Regions from separate parts of the Homo sapiens genome. Here region 1 is linked to region 2. The links are contacts of gene promoters, found by promoter capture Hi-C in human tissues and cell types (Jung and others, 2019). All regions are on one chromosome and are shown on one strand. The core of a region is centred on a gene start or on the middle of the fragment in contact, and the rest is flanking DNA. Distances in the headings are between cores, read along the strand shown.

Evidence for each region. The method cuts DNA at HindIII sites, captures the fragments that hold promoters and counts their contacts. A contact is called where the count stands out against the background at its distance.
Region 1: a fragment that was not itself captured here is called in contact with the fragment with the promoter of PHYHIPL in region 2 in 1 of the 25 tissues and cell types used here (dorsolateral prefrontal cortex).

Annotation. Positions count from the first base shown.
Region 1 is chr10:59,021,566-59,024,844 of GRCh38, reverse strand. It overlaps LOC102724768 (a long non-coding RNA gene), which reads right to left. Exons shown (of 3, transcript XR_428752.5): 2 at 2,203-2,276. Among named protein-coding and RNA genes, the nearest start is that of LINC00844, 24 kb to the right of the region's middle. The HindIII fragment of the contact is 4,949 bases long and covers 1-3,279 here.
Region 2 is chr10:59,174,951-59,178,399 of GRCh38, reverse strand. It overlaps PHYHIPL (phytanoyl-CoA 2-hydroxylase interacting protein like), which reads right to left and starts at 1,757. Exons shown (of 5, transcript NM_032439.4): 1 at 1,441-1,757. The coding sequence starts at 1,546. It overlaps CCEPR (cervical carcinoma expressed PCNA regulatory lncRNA), which reads left to right and starts at 1,936. Exons shown (of 1, transcript NR_131782.1): 1 at 1,936-3,449. The HindIII fragment of the contact is 6,557 bases long and covers 1-3,449 here.

The DNA of each region.
Region 1 (3,279 bases), core at 320-2,819, 150 kb after region 2:
TCCCAGATGATGGAAATTAGTGGCAAGGCTCAAGGTAACCAGAGAGTCTGACCTGTAACCCTTCTTTGCCTCCTTCTCTGATACCTCTTGCTTTTGACAGGATGTTCTGCTCATCCCGAGAGACTAGGAGGTTATGTAAGAACTCAGACAGGGGTGAAGAAGGACTGTATAATTGTGCACATCTCTTGACCCTGTCATCTGCCAAGGCTACCATTACAGCCAGCAGGAGCCATTTAGGGAAAAGAACAGGAGTAGGTGGGATGGGGTCGGTGGGGCAAGGCAGCTATAGGTTGCTAAGGACATTCCCAAATAGAAAGGAAGTCCCTGTCACAGTTGTCTCTTCTCATTACAGAAAGCCCACCTCAGGAATTGTCCCAATGCTCCTAGTTTTATCCCAGGCCTTGCACTGTGCCCCCTGGTGTTTCTCTGATTTCCCTGGCTCATAGTGACCTTTCCCCTTAGTTTGGGATCAGTGAATGGAGAGGGTAATGGTGTTATTGATTGTATCCTTGTAGAGAAAGAGTGTTATTGTAGGCAATATGAATGAGAAATGTATCTTCTATTAGGTTCTACACGTAAAAGGCATAATTCATGTGGTTATCTATGCTTAGAATACTTTATGACTTTTTTGGAAGGATTAAATATATTAAGATGGTAGAATTAGGCAAAAATGAGCTAGTGAGTAAGAACAGCATGCCTCCACTACCCTATACTGGGTACACAGGCTTGATAAAGGAGAAAGAATTATACAGAAGTCTTGAAGGGCTGTAGTAGGTTTCAGGGGAGTTGGTCCCTGTTACCAAAAACGTTTGCACTATGAATAAAAGATGATGCCTGAGTAACACATTTGAGACCTTCTTGGGCATCATCCTTGCCTGTTTTCCATTAGCTTAAGGAGAGGCATGAGTATAGTGATGTCTGTAATTGCCTGTCCTACCTGACACGGTCACTGAATGGCAGAAACCCTGGAGTGGAGATGGGTAGCTGATTCTCCTGGTGGCTTGGGTCACTGGCCTTCTTAGTAGCTTACTTACTTGAGTACTTGCCCTGCTCTTTGGTGGTGGCAGAAAGTCAAGCCCAGCTAGAAAGAGTTGGTCAAGATACAAAAGGGAAAAATACAAACCAAGCAAATAAAATGTTTAAAAATGTTTTAAGAAATCATGATTTAATATTAACAGCACCCAGAACTTCATTGCCAAGTTTATTAAATGTTATCAAAGACATTTAGCTAATATAGATTAAAAGACCCCTAGGCCTCTCTTATTGTCTTCAATCCTATATTGTTAGAAGTGATCTACTTTTTAAAAGTGATGCAGGATATACAAAAATTCTCAATCTCTGCCAGTATTTAGTTCATGTAGAGATGAGCGGGCTCCATTTCTCCTAGACTGAGCTACCATTATCTCCACACCCACTCTATCCTTTTTCATTTCTCCCTGATTCCCGACCTAAGGAAAGAGAGACTGCCCTACTTGTCCTCAAGATTCCCCTTTTAAGCTTCAGGGAATTAAACATGAAGCATAAGAACATTGCATTATCTCCCTGATTCCGAGTAACCAAATGTCCTATTCCACTCATAAAATTTAAATTTTTTCTTCATGTAGTTGTATAAAGCATTTTATCTGACTTGATTTTAAGATGTCGTTTACCTCTCAGAGAAGCAGAATGGTGAAATAGAAAGAACTAAGGTCTAGACTAGGGCAGTTCTGGTCCCAAATCCAAGATCTATATATAAGGTATCTTCATCTCTCTAAGTCACAGTTTCCTCCTATGTAAAATGAGATAATAACAGTTTCTAAGTTTTGGGGAAGCACTAAGTAGGATAATAAATGTAAAGCACAAAAATAGGACAATGTTAAGTTTCCACTCTTTTTCTTGTTTCCCTAGGGAAAGCTCAGCTTCCTCATATACTGTGTACGTGATACAGTCCATGTGGCCTCCTAAGACGAGGGTCATCTTACATATCCCAGAGTCCAGATCATGTCTGCGCTGTTTTTCTGACATCAAAAGTTTATGCTCTTGTTGGGAGTCCACTGGAAATGACGTTTTCTTGAAGTGTATTTAATGATATAAGGAAATGAACAGGCACCATTCATGAAAATATAAGATAGAAATTATGCAGTATAAATACAGTTTTCAGAAAAGAATATATGTCCATACGTTTATATATAGGACATTTGGTGGCATCACAATTTATCTCACCTGTATAATACCAGGTAGTTGTTCAGGAAGATACCAGACACTTTTTTTTTCTTGCTGAGTTGCGGCATTTAAAACTGAAAAGAAAAGCAAAATTGCCTACATGTGGGAAATATTCAGAGGGAGAGAGGATTTAGCTAAAAGCTAAATACAGAGCAGGAATTTTTAAAGCAAAATGCTGTGTGTTCTCTGAGGCTGTTTCTACCCTTTTCTCTCATCTGCTTGAAATTATCGGTAAAGTAGGGATTGCTCATCGGGTACGAAATGATACAAGATGAGTGAGGGGAAAGCCACAGGCTGCTGATGGGCCCTGACTAAATCGAGAGGATTATAATCACACACTCACGCATGCGCGTACACATGCATTGAAAAAAGAGAAGGAAAAGACAAAAAAAGTTATCAACTTTGTGTAATGATATTCCCTATTGAATTGCATTTTCCAAGCTTAAAAATGCCTCTTGGGCTTTATTTGACAAGCTGAAATAGTAAACTGATCATGAGCCCCAAGAAAAACTAAAGCTGTCCTGGATTAGGGTTTTATTCTCTCCACTTCCCAGATCTTTGGTGCTCATAGTGGATCTTCAATAGAAGAATAGCGTTATCAAATTTTGAGTTAACTTTTCAACATCCAATCTTTTAAATCATATAACAATGTACTACACTAAGACATCACTTTTCAGAGAGACTTACCAAAGGCCACACATAATTAGTGAGAAAACAACCTTGGAAGCCTTGACTCCATGTTACCTCTACGCCTCTCTTTCTTCATTGCTTTTATATGCATGAGCATTAAGAAAAAACAATGTGTGTTAATGTGCATGTGATTGTATGTGTGTGTATGTGTGGAGAGAAAGAGAAAGATAAGAGAGCGAGAGAAATTACATATATATGCATAGATACATACATGTATCTATATATTATATACATTTCTATGTTTGTGTGTATTTTTTTTCTTGAGGGTGCAATAGTCTTAATTTACACTTTACATTAAAGTGTAAATTAATTGTACTTTAATGCCAGAAATATCTCAAAACATCTGGACCTCTGTCAGGGTTATGGCGTGAGGGAACTGTGACTTGG
Region 2 (3,449 bases), core at 508-3,007:
ATATGGAATACCAAAATGATAAATGTTTTTAGATACCATAAATATGTGCACTTACTACCATGGTGACTAAAACAGTCTAAGAATAAAGGAAATACAAGCTGTCTTTGCAAACGTATTTATTTATTCATATACTACACCTGTATCAGAAATTAAAGTGGTTTTGGTTTCAAAAAGTTTGAATTCTGGTTTCAAAATTATTAAATATAAATTTATATTAATAAATATAAAATTTAGTAATAAACAAATTCGGTGCTTGCTTGATATAAACGTGCTGAATAGCAATGCGTAACCAAGTGATTACCATTTAAATGACTTTGGAAACAAGACCTCTGCTCCCTATTTGGATTAGGCTGATAAATTTTATGACCTTACTGTGAGCGTATTAGTATCTGTACATAACTTTGGTTAAAGACATGTTTTACAATCATTACCTCTATATACAGTTAAACATTAATTTCATTTACAGTCAAAAGTATTTGGGGCCCTCTTAACAACATGTGAACTGTGTTTCCTTTGTCAGATGTAGAATTTTACAATTATTCGGCCAACCAATTACTAATCAAATGATTTCTTTACAAATGAAGTTTTGTACCACATTACTAAAGTAGCAGACTCTAACTAGTCCAGCTAACCCAGAAGCACTGTAACTAACCACACCGCACACAGCACTAGCTTATGTCTTCAACGCTCAGACCTGTATTCAATCAATTTCCTTCCACAGGAGCCTGCCAACTTCAACAACAGAATAAACGATATAATATCAACACGCAATGGTACGTACTCGCCACAAAGTCTGAATCACAGCACATATATTAGGCCAATATTTTCGACAGTCTGACTCAGAGCCCAGGAACCATGAAGATTGTGTCTGTCCTTGGTGCTGAAATGCACTGTTTTTCTGCGCCCTCACTGAAAAACTGTCATCCTAATCCCAATCCAAGAGGCTAAAAAGACTTGTTAATTTGGGGAGTCTGAGGATGGGAGGTTTAAAAAAGAAAATGATAAGTTTCTGGAAGAGAATGCCAACTAGTGTGTGTGTGTTGGGGGAAGGGGGTTGCTAGAAACATCCCGAGGGCATTTCCCCTTCAGTGCCCAGAGACCCAGGAAATCCGGACTGCGGCAAAGATCGGAAACGCCTCGTCGGGGCAGGAGCCGCGAGCGGGAACGTCGCCCTCGTCCGGGCCAGGCGGGCGAAGGCGGCGAAGGGCGCCACGGTTGTGGACGGCTACTTTCCGCGCCAAGGCGCGAGCCCCGGGGTCCTTTTGTTTCTGGGGTGAGGGGAGGGCGGTGGGCGGAGGGTAACCCACATCTGCATTTATTTGCACAGAGGGGACAACAAAAGACCCTGCCGCCCTGGCGAGCGGCGTCGGCGGAGCCAGAGTGGCCCCGGCGCCTCGGCGCGAACTCTGTCCCTTTCCTCGCGGTCCCGGCCGCTCTTACCGTCCCGGTCGCACAGCTGAATGGCCTCCAGGCTGAGGTTTTTGATCACCTCCTCACAGGGGCTGGTGGGGCTGTTGAGGGCATGATCCAGGCGCGGCACCTCCATTTTTCCAACCCACTCTGAAGCCCGCCTGCTTCGTATCCAGGCTCTCTCTGCCGGCCGGGTGGGCAAGAAGAGCGGGAAAGGGAGGGGGAGTGGCAGAGGGAGGGAAGGAGGCCTGGGACGCGGTGATGCGGCGCCGAGGCTGAGGCGCGGGGCTGGAGAGCCGCCGCGAAGGCGACGGCTGTGGCAGGAGCTCCGCGGAGTGTGCGGCTCTGAGAGACCGAGCAGGACCCGGCGCGAGGATGGGAGGCGCGCGCTCCCGGCGGGGAGGGGACGCTGCTCTCGGGGAACGTGATGTATAGGGCTTCGACGCGCGCACGCGCGCGGGAGAACGCGCCCACCTGCTGGCGCGCGGTGGTCCCTCCCCCGCCCTTCTGCGCGCACGCGCCCCCACCTGCCCTCCAGCCACTGCCAAGGCAACCTCGCGCGTGAGGCGTCGGGCGACCGAGCGCGCGGGAAGGGCGAGCGCTATACGCCGCGCGGCTGCCTCGCCCTCTCTCCTGGTGATAGCCATTTGGCGTCTTCTGTCTGCTCTCGGTGCCTGGCGAAGCCCGAGTTGGCCCTGAGGCGTCTGCACGGGGAGGCGAGGGCGAGCATGTTTGTTGTTTACCAAGAATTGGAAAAATAAGGGCCCGGACTCTTCGGACTCTCTGTACGGTATTGGGGTGTGGGAGCCACCTCCTCCCCTGAAGGTCCCAGGATACTCGCTGCCCGCACCCTGCGGGCTCGGCCGGACATTCCTCGGAAACAGCTGCGTCTGTGTGAGAAATGAGCGGATTACCTGAGGCGTGGAGGGGTTTAGAGACAGCATTTTGCCAGTCCACGACACTGAAGCGGGGCAAACGTGGGAACTCCTTACTGCCAGAAAGGTGAGGGAATGAGGAGATGCAGCAAGCCTGCTGAAAAGGCGGCAGACATGCTGCGGGGCCAGCAGCCACGGGACCAGCAGCCACGCAGTCTGCCTTCGCAGCGTAGCTTCATTCATTCATGCGCGTAGCAAATAAGTATTCAATGCTCACCCTATGCCATTGTTCTGGGCGTCAATGAAGGGAGTATAAACAGCACCTGCTCCCATGGATTTGGAAGGAATCTTTGCTACAATAGCTAATGAAGATTGACTTGTGCTTCCTCAAGCTACTCTATAACTTGTATGCCCATTGATTTTAATTGCATTTAAGATTCTGCAGTGCACTTAGTGGATGTGCAAACGTTTTAAACATAAAATAGAGGTCACAGCCTATTGACCTCTGTTCCCGTTTGCTTCTTTGGAAAAGTTTTTAGTTTTGTTGCTATCTTGGGATCAAAAATAGTGTCCCCTCTTTTCTTAATGTGCTTATAAATTAATATAAGTTCCCTTTTATTGATTTTCCATTTCAAACATAAATGTTAACCAACAAGTAACAGTTTACACATAGATGTCTGTATGCTGCTCTTTCTAGTCACATCCATTTAGCTATAACATGATGAAGTCTAATTAATTGAAGCTTCAATAAATGGAAGGACCAGCTTAAAGTAAAATAAGCCTGTGAAAAATCTTGGCACAATTGAAATTTCATAAATATCTGTGAAAGATAATTAGGCATCTTAAAGTGAAAAGTCTTCATTATGAACTTATTAATGAAGATGGATGTTTTTGAAGTTTGAAAGAATTCTTGTCTTAAGGTAGGGGTGTCCCCAAGGAGAGGGTAAATTATTACCTGTCAAAGGATATGACAAGAAAGTACTTACTGGTGAATTTTCTGTGTTCGAAAGCCTGGCTCTGTAGAACTAGAAATTGGTATTGTAAGCCCAACAGTGGGTTCATTTTTTAGAGTAGTCTCAAATTTATAAATCTCAAAAAAAAGGAACTGTGTAAACTAGAATAACAATTTACTGATTTTCAAGTAAGAAATACGACATGCATTTA